Linked DNA regions of Homo sapiens: region 1 is linked to region 2. Evidence: promoter capture Hi-C in 16 types of primary human blood cells and fetal thymus (Javierre and others, 2016). All regions are on one chromosome and are shown on one strand. Each heading gives the region's core, a stretch centred on a gene start or on the middle of the fragment in contact. The rest is flanking DNA. Distances are from core to core; before and after follow the strand shown.

Region 1 (6,402 bases), core at 11-2,510, 120 kb before region 2:
TTATTATTACAGTTTTGGAGACAGGGTCTCGCTCTGTCACCCAGGCTGGAGTGCAGGTGTGAGACCACAGCTCACCGCAGCCTCGAACTCTTGGGCGCACGCACTCCTGCCTTCTCATTCTTCCAAGTAGCTGAGATTACAGGCACAAACCACTGTGCCTGGCTTCCCCCTGGAATTTTAAATCAATTGACTTTTAGCATCCAACATTGCTCACTAAAAGACTATTACATTTTTAAATTTTTGTGCCTCGTAAGCATTTACAATTTTGTCTTTATCCACAATGTTCTGAAATATTGCAATTAGCTTTATTTGTAGACCTTTCATTCATCCTAACTAGCATTAAGTAAGACTTTTTAATGTGAAGATTTCTGTCTCACTTCAGTTCTGAAAACGTTTCTCAAATTATTTCTTCTGATTTGTTTGTTCTTTCTTGAACACTTATAAGTTAGATACTGGGTTCTTAAATTGCCCCCCTTTTCTCTTATATTTTCTGTCTCCTTGACTTTTTGCTTTCATTGAGAAGGTATTGACTTTATGTTCGAGACCTCCGGTTTTCCTTCCAAACATAATTTTTGCTTCTCTGTGCTTGCTCTGGTTCTTTTTATTTTAAAATGGCATCCTATTCAGTTTTGTGGTTGCAATTTAATCTTTAATTTCTCGGACGTTACTAAAGTTTTATATTAGGTTTTATTACATTCCTGAATTATCCTGTTGCTCTTTCATCCATTTTCTATTTCCTTATTTTGGACTTTCACACATTCTACATTTTCCTAAAATGTCTCATCACCCTTGGTTGTCTGCCTATAAGGTTCCTATTATATCTCCATTTCACCTATGAGAAAATTAATTCTTACAGAGGTTAAGTAAGATGCTCAAGACTATGCTGTTAGTAAGTAGCAAATTTGAGATTCTAATTCAAGGTAGTCTAATTCCAGAGACTGATCTATCAACAATTCTCTCTCTAGTTGTACCAGTTGCTTTAGCTCTCCCAGAGGATTCATTTAAGTTATTTAGAGAAGGAACCTTTGTTTTGAGGTGGGAAGACTTGGAAGAAAAGCTTTGCAAGTTGCTGTTTTAAAATGAAGAATAAAGAGTTGCCTTTGGGTCTTAAATACTAAAGAACTTCTAAAAAAGATGCATGTCTAAACGCTGCCACAAGGTGGTGCACAATGACTAAGCACATTTGCTCCCAGTGGCAGCAACTAGGATCTGGGACTCTAATTAGAGAGATTCCGAGGGCTCCCAAAAATTTCAAGGCAAAGTTGGCAAGTCTTGTCAGGAATGAGGACTGTATGCAAGTTTTGTTTGTTTGTTTATAGAACACTAGCACATGGATACTACCTGACGAAATCTTTTTGCTGTATTTTTGTTACGAATGGTACTTTGAAAATAAAAGTGCTCCCTTTACCCTGCCGCCCTCCCTACCTCCTGAGAATTGTCTGAATTTATCTTATTAGCAAATATAAGCTTACAGATATTGGTAATTAGAAAGATAAGGTTCTCAGAAAAAAAATAATCTAAGCTGTACTCTTCTGAGAAAAAGTCTGGCTCTATCACCTAGGCAGGAGTGCAGTGGCACCATCACGGCTCACTGAAACTTCAGCCTCCCAGGCTCAAGTGATCCTCCCAACTCAGCCCCCTCAGTAGCTGGGACTACAGGCATGCACCACCACACCCAGCTAATTTTTGTATTTTTTGTAGAGACAGGGTTTGTAAAGACCAGCCATGTTGCCCAGGCTGGTCTCGAACCTGTAAGTTCAAGCAATCCACCCACTTCGGCCTCCCAAAGTGCTGAGACTACAGGTGTGAGTCACTGTGCCCAGCCTAAGCTGCACTCTTAAGTATACTCTAAAGATAGCAGATTCCATATTCCATCACTGTCATAATCTGAGGTGCAAATATTTTCATAGTTTTGCCACATATTGTATTAATTTACATGTTATAAAGTCTCTAGTTCCAAGCATTTAAAGTAAATTTATTAATAATATCAAATAGAAATGTATTGAAAGAAAATACTTAAAATTACTTTAACAGAGTCATTAACAGGTGGCGGGGCAAGGGTCACTTCTTTAAAAAAAGAAGTCCAGACAATAAATAAAAAATAGCAAGAATCTCTGTCACACTTAGCATAACTTTCTAATTATAAATTCAAATAATTTGGTCTGTGCAGAAGCTACTGGAGTATTTTTTTAGTATTACTTTCACTTTTGCAGTTCTCCATTTATGCTAATCATAGATTTATGCAATTCATGGTTTTACTTTTTTTAATGATGAGAGAGTCTCCTTTTCATTTTTCTGTCAAATATTTTACTATCATTTTGTTATTTATTTATGCAGAAAAGGAATACACTGAACTGGAGTCCTTGATTTTGCAACTTAATGCACATACACACCAAAGAATATAAAGAAAAGTAGACTGCCTTTTAACTAGTATTTAAATGTACACACAATGTGCCTGAGGACTGGCTTTATCCTTGTATTCATTCAACTACATTAATTATTATTATTATTATATTATTATTATTTTTTTTTTGAGATAGAGTTTTGCCTTTGTTGCCCAGGCTGGAGTGCAGTGGTGCAATCTCAACTCACTGCAACCTCCGCCCAAGGCTCAAGTGATTCACCTGCCTCAGCCTCCCGAGTAGCTCGTATTACATGGGATTACAGGTGCCTGCCACCATGCCCAGCTAATTTTTGTATTTTTAGTAGAGATGGGGTTTCACCACATTGGCCAGGCTAGTCTGGAATTCCTGACCTCAGGTGATCTGCCTGCCTTCGGCCTCCCAAATTGTTGAGATTACAGGTGTGAGCCACTGTACCTAGCTCCAAGACATTCATATTCAGAATAATACTGCAAATGAAGATAAATGTATTAATGTCAAATAGATTTTCTTCAAATTAAGCAAAGCCTGTAATTCTTATTTAGAATGCATTTAAAGGATAAGAAGTTTAAATGCCTAATCTTCATATACTGAGAGCAGGCCTGAAAATTTTTTAATTTTTGTTTTTACAACTTAAAAATATGTCTCACATTGCCATATATTAAAAATAACAAAAATGTTCTTCCTCAAATTATACAAGAATTTTATCTCTTGGAACTATAACCATATGTGAGAAACTGCAGCTAAAAGAATGTTTTCAAAAAGTTTGATATGGTTTGGCTGTGTCCTCACCCAAATCTCATCTTGATTTGCAGCTCCCATAATTTCCACATGTTGTGGGAGAGACCTGGGGGAGATAATTGAATCATGGGGGCAGTTTCCCCCATACTGTTCTTGTGGTAGTGAATAAGTCTCACAAGATTTGATGATTTTATAAGGGGTCTCTCCTTTCGGCTGGCTCTCATTCTCTCTTGTCTGCCACCATGTAAGACGTGCCTTTCACTTTCTGCCATGATTGTGAGGCCTCCCCAGCCACGTGGAACTGTGAGCCCATCGAACCTCATTTTCTTTATAAATTACCCAGTCTCAGTTATGTCTTTATCAGCAGCATGAAAACGGACTAATATAAGTTGTAGAAAGCATGAAAAGAATTTTTCATTATTTTATATTCCCTAAGGTGCATGTTTTTGTTTTTATATATAGTCCTATAATTTGATGATATACAAAATTGAAACATTTGTTCAACTTGAAAGCATATTTGGAAATAGCCATTTAGCAATTATATTCTCTGAACTAAATATCAGTTTGTATCATTTAATAACACCATTTGACAAGGGATTAGAACAACTGAAATTTGGATTGTTTTGAAAAGGCCCAAATTTGGTGTCACAGCCTTAGTAGGGTAATCTATTGCCCCTTAATTGTGTCAGTTACTAAGAAAGAGTGTATGTATGTTAGGTTTAGAGGTATAATTGTGTATCTTTATCCAGGGATATATAAATTTGCATATAAAAATTGAATTGTACAATACGGATGTGCATAAGTTCCTAAGATTTGGATGATTACATACAGTAGCCCCCTTCATCCATGATTTTGCTTTCCACAGTTTCAGTTACCCAAGGTCAACTCTGGTCCGAAAATATTACATGAAAATTTTCAGAAATAAATATTTCATAAGTTTTAAATTGTACATCATTCTGAGTAGCATGATAGAATCTCAGGCTGTCCCACTTCACTCTGTCCTGGATGTGAATCATTCCTTTGCCCAGCATATCCAGGCTGTATATGCTACCCACCCCTTAGTCACTTGGTAGGTGTCTCAATGATCAAATCGACGGTCATGGTATCACAGTACTTGTGTTCAAGTAACCCTTGTTTTACTTAGTAATGGCCCCAAAGCACAAGAGTAGCAATGCTGGCAATTTGGATGTGCCAAAGAGAAGCTGTAGTTTCCTTTAAGTGAAAAGGTGAAAGTTCTTGACTTAATAAGGAAATTATATATATAGAGTTCAGTACTACCCACAACAGAGAAATATCAGCACCCCTAGAAACTATCTTTCTGTCCTATTCTAGTCAACTTTGTCAAGAGTAATCTTTATCTTGACTTTTAACAGCACAGATTAGTATATTAGTTTTCTAGGGTGGCTATAACAAAGTACCACACACTGGATGGCTTAAAACAACAGAAATTTATTCTTTCACAGTTCTGAAGATTAAAAGTCTGAAATAAGTTGCTGGCAGAGCCATACTCCCTCTGAATTCTCTAGGAGAGGATCCTTCCTCAACTCTTCCAGTTTCTGATAGCTCTAGACATTTCTTGGCTTGTGGGAGCATAACTATAATCTCTGCCTCTGTCTTTGCATGGCTGTCTTTCCTCTGTATTGGTATTCTTATGGAGTTTTCTTGGTGTCTGTGTCTTTTTGCCTTTTCATATAAGGACACCAGTCATATTGGATTAGGATGCAGTCATATTGGATTAGGGTCCACCTTAACTTGATTATATCTGTAAACTCTATTCCAGATAAGATCACATTCACGACCGAGGAGCCAAGATGGCCGAATAGGAACATCTCCAGTCTACAGCTCCCAGTGTGAGCGACGCAGAAGACGGGTGATTTCTGCATTTCCATCTGAGGTACCGGGTTCATCTCACTAGGGAGTGCCAGACAGTGGGCACAGGTCAGTGGGTGCAGTGCACCGTGCGCCAGCCGAAGCAAGGCGAGGCGTTGCCTCACTCGGGAAGCGCAAGGGGTCAGGGAGTTCCCTTTCCTAGTCAAAGAAAGGGGTGACAGACGGCACCTGGAAAATTGGGTCACTCCCACCCGAATACTGCGCTTTTCCGACGGGCTTAAAAAACGGCGCACCACGAGATTATATCCCGCACCTGGCTCAGAGGGTCCTACGCCCACGGAGTCTCGCTGATTGCTAGCACAGCAGTCTGAGATCAAACTGCAAGGCGGCAGCGAGGCTGGGGGAGGGGTGCCCGCCACTGCCCAGGATTGCTTAGGTAAACAAAGCAGCCGGGAAGCTCGAACTGGGTGGAGCCCACCACAGCTCATGGAGGCCTGCCTGCCTCTGTAGGCTCCACCTCTGGGGGCAGCGCACAGGCAAACAAAAAGACAGCAGTAACCTCTGCAGACTTAAATGTCCCTGTCTGACAGCTTTGAAGAGAGCAGTGGTTCTCCCAGCATGCAGCTGGAGATCTGAGAAGGGGCAGACTGCCTCCTCAAGTGAGTCCCTGACCCCTGACCCCCAAGCAGCCTAACTGGGAGGCACCCCCTAGCAGGGGCAGACTGACACCTCACACGTCCGGGTACTCCAACAGACCTGCAGCTGAGGGTCCTGTCTGTTAGAAGGAAAACTAACTAACAAACAGAAAGGACATCCACACCAAAAACCCATCTGTACATCACCATCAGCAAAGACCAAAAGTAGATAAAACCACAAAGATAGGGAAAAAACAGAGCAGAAAAACTGGAAACTAAAAAGCAGAGCACCTCTCCTCCTCTAAAGGAACGCAGTTCCTCACCAGCAACAGAACAAAGCTGGACGGAGAATGACTTTGACGAGCTGAGAGAAGAAGTCTTCAGACGATCAAATTACTCCGAGCTACGGGAGGACATTCAAACCAAAGGCAAAGAAGTTGAAAACTTTGAAAAAAATTTAGAAGAATGTATAACTAGAATAACCAATACAGAGAAGTGCTTAAAGGAGCTGATGGAGCTGAAAACCAAGGCTCGAGAACTACGTGAAGAATGCAGAAGCCTCAGGAGCCGATGCGATGAATTGGAAGAAAGGGTATCAGCGATGGAAGATGAAATGAATGAAATGAAGCGAGAAGGGAAGTTTAGAGAAAAAAGAATAAAAAGAAACGAGCAAAGCCTCCAAGAAATATGGGACTATGTGAAAAGACCAAATCTACGTCTGATTGGTGTACCTTAAAGTGACGGGGAGAATGGAACCAAGTTGGAAAACACTCTGCAGGATATTATCCAGGAGAAGTTCCCCAATCTAGCAAGGC
Region 2 (6,967 bases), core at 1,371-3,870:
GATGTGGGGATGAGATACAAGTGGGAGTGATATGGGGAAGGGAGAATGTTTCCACATACAACACTTGACAAATGCTACTGTATGAGAACTAAACCTGTATATATACTTCAGGGCTGTTCTTACTGATATAGAATATTGTGGGGTTTTTCACTGTTTTCGTTATTGGGTTCTTCCCCCTTCCATCTGTTTAATATAATTGCCCTCTTCATTTTTCTCTATCTATTAATCAGTTACCAACAAAAACAAGTAGTAAAAATGAAACAAACTAGTGTGGTTCTATAAATGTCTAAAACAATTTGACTATACGAAAAATAGAAGCCTAGGATAATAGGGCAGGAGGTAGAGGGAGTCATTCAGAAATATGCGAAGTCTTTAACAGCTTTAAGTAAACAATTTCAGAACTTGAAAACAATTATCTGAAAAAGTATAAATGAAAATGTTAATCATGTTTTTATATTGCCCAAAAAGTAACAAATAAAATGTTCCCTTTCTAGTTTTAGGAAAACTATGTTCAAACAAAAGAAACTTTTCCTAAAATAAACCTCACCAGACCAGTTTCATATGGCTTTGCTACCTCAGAATTTAAGTCAAAAATCTTAAGGCTAACATTTATACACTTGAATACTTTCTTCCTAAAGCAACTACAAATAGACAACAAAACTACAAATTTAAAACATTTGGGAAGAAAAGCGTTGCATAAACTGACAAAAACCTCCTATACAAACAGCAAATATTTTCAAAAGAATTTTTGATTTCTAGTTCTAGCATACAAGAATATAACTTGTTTGGGTTCAGAATAAAAATATCATGTACATATTTTAGTTCTTATATACTCCTGTGAAAAAACACCCCTTATCTAAAACTGCATCCTCTCATTCCGCATTATTTTTCTTCATAGCATGAACTGATAACTAACATTATAGTATATGCTTAGTTGTTTATTATGTTTCTCCCTTTAGAGCAAGCAGGGACTTTTTGCTCATTAATGTGTTCCAATAACCCAGAATAGTGCCTGGCACACAGTAAATGGTCCATAAGAATGCATTGTGGAATAAATGCATTAGCAAGAACCAGTTTATAAAAATAGTGTCAAATAAAAATAATTTTCTGTTAATTTAGAAACTTAAAATTTGAGCCCCAATCTTCAACGTTCAGTTAAAAAATGTGAAATTTTTTTCTAGTTCAGGATTTATGTAAATAAAATCATGAAGGTTCTAAAAGATGATGAATTTGGCACTTTCATTATGTAAATCTTTTTTTAAAAAAGAAACACAGGTCCTAAAAGGGACCTTGCTACAGTTCAGTATGAGTTTGTGATGTGAGGGGATGCTATTTTAAATTAATTAAAGTTCTAGGTTTAGATTCAGATTTTTTAAGTTCCTATTATTTATTATTAAAGTTTTAGTTTCAGCACGTGGCACAAAATTAGATTGCCAAACACAATAAACAATATCATCCCAGGTAGTTTTAAGTGTCTGCTCTGCTATAATCACTGTTAAAATACTTAAGCTATTTTTGAGTCTACATAATTTGCGGTGCCGACCTTCTCTAGTTATATTAATGACAATCTCTAGTTAAATATTAATACAACTAGATACAATTAATCTTTAGTTATATTAATGACAATTCACCATTTTGTCTTCTGTAATCTTTACTTATTGTATAAAATTATTGTATACAATTATTGTATAAACTTATTGTATAAAATTGCAGGCCTATTACTTCTTACAATTTTTACTCAGAAACATACTCCTTATTTTAAAAGTACAGAAACTCAGATAAAAATTATTGATTTGCTAGAAATTTTTGTGAGTTAAGGAAGAAGTAGGGACCAACATTTACGGGAATAACCGACCGTCACAAATAACTGCAGAGAATCTGACAAAGAAGGAAAAATCAACGGGAACAAATTACTCCGAGGCTCGGCCTGGGAAAGGACCATACAATTGTCGGAGCCCCAGATCTCACCCCCTCTCCCCAGGCACCAACAGGGCTGGCTGGAAGGGTCCGGCTGGGGACCGAATCAGCACCTAAAGCAAAATAACAGCTCTGTGGATTTCCTAAGGAGAATATCCTAAATCCAAGGCAGAGGCCTTAGGGCCCCGAGAGTGGCACAAGAACGGGGCGCTGGGGCGCGTCACTCCACCCCCCGGGTCCCGTTTCCTCCCACCGCTGTGAAACCCGCGGCTCAGACAGATGGGTACGTCCCCCCCAGCGCTCGCTCAGGGGGCGCCACACACCGGAACACAAGACACAGGAACCGAACACCAATCAGCCGACTTTAGGGGCGGGCCGGACGCCCAGCCGGTCCCACCTCGCGGGGAGCTGGGCCCGCCCTGCGCCCGAGCGCGCCGCAGGCCTCACCGCTTTCTGACTGGAAATGCGGCTGAGGCGCTGGCGCGGGCCGGCGGCCTGGAGACGCCTGGTGACCAACAACTCGCCGCGCCCGTCCGCTGCCTGCCCGGCAGACGGCTCTAGAGATCGACCGCTGCCCGGACGGCTCGGCTGGGTCCCCACTTCCCCGCGGGCGTCGGGCCCCCGTCCCCACCTTCCCCGCGGGCGTCCGGGCCCCTCTCCTCACCTCCCTGCGGACAGCTCCTAGGCCAGTCGAGCGCCGATTTATCAGCCCCTCTGAGGACCGCCAAGCCTGGCTAAGCCGAGCTCCAAGCAATGGATCGCCCAAGCCCCCAACCTCTCCCTTCCTACCTTTTTTTCTCCGAAAGTTTATAACTGGTTTTGAATATATCTCTTGCAGTTTACTGTGTCTATTCTCTTTAAATACAGCTCCTAATCCTGGGTTCTAAGGGTCTACTAAATGGTACCCTTTCCCTAAGCTAACCTGCTTCTCTACCCCCACAACCACCACTCCACAAACATACCCCAACCTGCCTTTCTCATCAAAGTTAGCCAGGCCTCAGCTCTGGGACTTCCGGTCTCTTCGTACCTAAAAAGTGTTTTACCTATATTATTTATAAAATATCACAGTGGCACTCATGAGGTCGGTATTACTGGGGAACTTGATTCAGAAATAAAGTTAAATTTCAGAAATAAATATTCTAAAACACAATGATATTTAAATGTGTTTAGCCAACATGAATTTATAAAAACAGGGCAATAATGTGTTCTTAGGCTGTAAACATGAACAAACTATAAATTATCCTTTTAAGTTTCTTTAGAATTGTCCTCTGAAGATTTGGCAGGGAATGTTTTGTAGATGATAAAATAGCAACGAATCAATGATGCTTTTCTTACAGAGACATTTATCTTTCCTTTGGAAACCCCCACCTGTGACATCTAGGGCCAACCTACTGCTGTCTGACTGCCCTATTCCTGTTCTCTTTTTTCTTGCAGTTCTACTGTTCATTAGCTATATGACCTTGGAAAAGACCCAACCTTTAAGTCTTAATTCTGCATCCTCAGTGATACTCATAAGCTCTAACTCCTAGATACTGCTGCAAGGGTTAAATAAAATAATATTTGCAGTAGTCCTACCACACAGTAAATGCTCATGAATATTAATTTCTTTCACCTTCTCTGAAATGTAAAATTATTCCAGTAATTGGGTGAGCCAGTTATTTGGATACTGATAAAATAACAAGTCTTTGTCTCTTGGAGAAAATAACATTTTGACTGCATAAACTATTCTTAATAGAAAGGTTGAATTATCATTCCTCTCAAAAATACTGGAGAGGAAAGTTACTTTCCATAGACTGCATAGAGGAAAATAACGAAACAGTGCATTTGTTATAGTGAACCCCTCAATGTGTTGAAATTCATACATTGAATTCTAACCCCCGATGTGATGATATTTGAACGTGGGACTTTTGTGAGGTAATTAACTCAAAAGGGTAGAGCCTTCATGAGTAGGATTGTGCCCTTTTAAGAGGCCAGAGAGTTAGCTCGCTCTTTTCCTACCATGTGAGGATACAGGAGGACGGTATCTGCAAGCCAGGAAGGAGGCCCTCGCCAAATACCGGATCTGCCTGCACTGTGATCTTGGACTTCTCAGGCACCAAAATTGTGACAAATGTTTGTTGTTTAAGCCACCCAGCCTATGGTAATTTGTTATAGCAGCTTGAACTAAGATAGGGTTTGAGTGATAGAATTGTAGAATTCAGCAACAGGCAGGTACAGGGGAGTCTTACTGTCAAAGCACACAGTAGCAAATGGCCACCATGTTCATAAACAAAAACATTCATTCATTCACTCACTCATTTATTCAAGAATGCATGTGGAATCTATAGAGCCTTACTTTCTCTTAAAATAATGTAATAAAAATGTCAAAGCTGCAGTTTTTAAAAGGAAGCCTCAGGACAGTGATAAAGTTACTAAAAATCCCATTTTGGGGGGAGGGATTACCATGGTTTTTAGTAATGTTGCCACATTTCTCAAGAAAACATTTTAATCCTAAAGATTTAATTTTACAACCAGTGCAACAATGTCATAAGCAATCCTCCAAATTGAATAACATAACTAACATTTGAAATATAGTCTTCCCGGTCAACTTCTGGCATGACTGCATAAAGAGCTTTGCTACCTCACTTCTCAGTGAAACTGGTGAAAATTCTAGAAAAATGACTCAGACCCTCTGGAAATGATCCTAAGGGCAAACAGCAAAAGAAGAAACATCTTTTCAAGAAAGAGATACAAAAATTTGGTAAGAAAGGCAAGGCTCTGTGGTATTTTATCCAAGACTCCCAAGTTCCAGCTTAGCAAGACAGGCTCCATTCTAGACAGCTGCAGCCAAGAATACAGAGCTCTCTCTGCACCCAGCTCCCACTAGAAGGCGCGCTTTCTTTCTTTCATTGTGGTAAAACATGCGTAATATTTATAATTTTAACCATATATAAGTGTATAATTCAGGGACATTAAATACACTCATAGTGTTGTATAACCATCACTCTTATCCATACCCAAAACTTTTTCATTATCCCCAACAAGAAATTTGTGCCCATTCAGGGAGGGGAACTTCACACACTGGGGCCCGTTGGGGGGTGAGGGGCTGGGGGAAGGATAGCATTGGGAGAAATACTTAATGTAAATGACGAGTTGATGGGTGCAGCAAACCGACATGGCACATGTATATCTATGTAACAAACCTGCACGTTGTGCACATGTACCCCAAAACTTAAAGTATAAGAAAAAAAAAAAGAAATTTCTGCCCATTAAACAGGAACTCCTTCTTTTCCCCTTTCCCTAATTCCTGGTAACCTCTATTCTACTTTCTATTTCTATGAGTTTACCTATCCTAAGTACTTCATATAAGTGGGATCATACAATATTTGTTCTTCTATTTCTGGATTATTCACTTAGCATAATGTTTTCAATGTTCATCCATGTTGTAGCATGGATCAGAATTTTACTCCTTTTTAAGGCTCAATAATATTCTATTGTATTTATATACCACATTTTGTTTATCCATTTGTAATCCTGGCTAAGGGACATTTGAGTTGTTTCCACATTTCCACCTTTTGGCTATTGTGAATAATGCTTCTATGAACATTCGTGTGTAAATATCTCCGTTCAAGTCCCTGCTTTCAATTCCTTTGGATATGTACCTAGGAGTGGAATTGCTGGGACATATGGTAATGCTATTACAGCCAATGCCATGAGTTCTAGCTGATGTATCCAACATAACCAAAATTTTCTTCACTTTGTAACATCCACATCTTTTACACCCTGATTAGTCAGTAGAAATTGATATTGAAAAATTAGTCTCAGGCTGGGCAACACAGCGAGACTTCATCTCTACCAAAATTTTAAAAACTAACCAGGTGTGGTGGTGTGTGCCTGTAGTCCTAGCTGCTTGGCAGGCTGAGGCAGGAGAATGGCTTGAACCAAGGAATTCCAGGCTGCAGTGAGCTGTGATCCCACTACTGCACTCCAACCTGGGCAATAGAGCAAGATCCTGTATCTAAAAAAGCAAGAAAGAAAAAAGAAAAATTAGTGTTGATGGCTCTAGAGAAGCAGGAACCAAGAAATGTTGAGGTTTCAAGACTATTTTTCTGCAGATGACAGCCAGAAATGTGTTGTGTTTTTTATTGTCAGATTTGGACAAGAAACAGTGAAGAGATCATTTGGGAAGAATCTGAGAATTACAAAATTAATTTCTGAGAAAAAAACAGAAAAAAAGGAAATAAAGGTAGTTTGATATGATGGGATTCTCAGGAGGAAAGAAAAGTTTAGGGAGTTAGGGCCAATTCAGTAGATACTTAAATAACAAAAGGAAGACTGAATTAAGCACAAACCAAAAAAAAAAAATCTTTCTGTTCTTTCTTTCTTTTTCTTTGTTTCTCTTTTCTTTCTTTCTTTCTCTTTTCTCTCTTCCTCCCTTCCTCCCCTTCCTTCCTTCCCTCCCTCCCTCCCTTCTTTTTTCCCCTTCCTTCCTTTCTTTCCCTCTTTCTTTCTCTTTCTTTTCCTTCTTTCTTTCCTTCCTTCCTTCTTTCCTTCTTTCTTTCTTTCTTTCTTTCTTTCTTTCTTTCTTTCTTTCTTTCTTTCTTTTTCTTTCTTTCTTCAGGGTCTTGCTCTGTTGCCCAAGCTAGAGGGCAATTATGTGATGCCTCACTGTAACCTCATGGCTCACCATAACCTCAACCTCCTGGGCTCAAGCAACCCTCCTGCCTTAGCCTCCCAAGTAGCTGGGACCACACATACATACCACCACACCACACCCTGCTAATTTTTTAAAAATTATTTTTATTTTTTGTAGAGATGAGGTCTTGCTATGTTACCCAGGCTGGTCTCAAACTCGTTGCCTCAAGCAATCCGCCCACCTTGACCTCCCAAAGTGCTCAAACAGAAAAACAAGTGGCTTTGAAGAAATATATTAGTACCAGTATAAACATTACTGGTGTGAGCCACCATGCCTGGCCAGGATAATTTTTCTTTAGGAAAGATTTAGTAAGTATGTATGTAACCAAGAACATAATGACATAAATTGATTAGAAAGCAATTCCTTGAGTTCCAA

Evidence for each region. Contacts are between HindIII fragments. The CHiCAGO score rates a contact against its expected background, and 5 or more counts as called.
Region 1: a fragment that was not itself captured here is called in contact with the fragment with the promoter of HFM1 in region 2 in 2 of 17 cell types (megakaryocytes and erythroblasts); the score reaches 5.6 in megakaryocytes.

The regions. Positions count from the first base shown.
Region 1 is chr1:91,281,728-91,288,129 of GRCh38, forward strand. All of the region lies in intron 30 of HFM1 (helicase for meiosis 1), which reads right to left. Among named protein-coding and RNA genes, the nearest start is that of HFM1, 120 kb to the right of the region's middle. The HindIII fragment of the contact is 410 bases long and covers 1,056-1,465 here.
Region 2 is chr1:91,402,217-91,409,183 of GRCh38, forward strand. HFM1 (helicase for meiosis 1) reads right to left here and starts at 2,621. Exons shown (of 39, transcript NM_001017975.6): 1 at 2,582-2,621. RefSeq lists a silencer at 2,216-2,595. The HindIII fragment of the contact is 14,376 bases long and covers 1-6,967 here.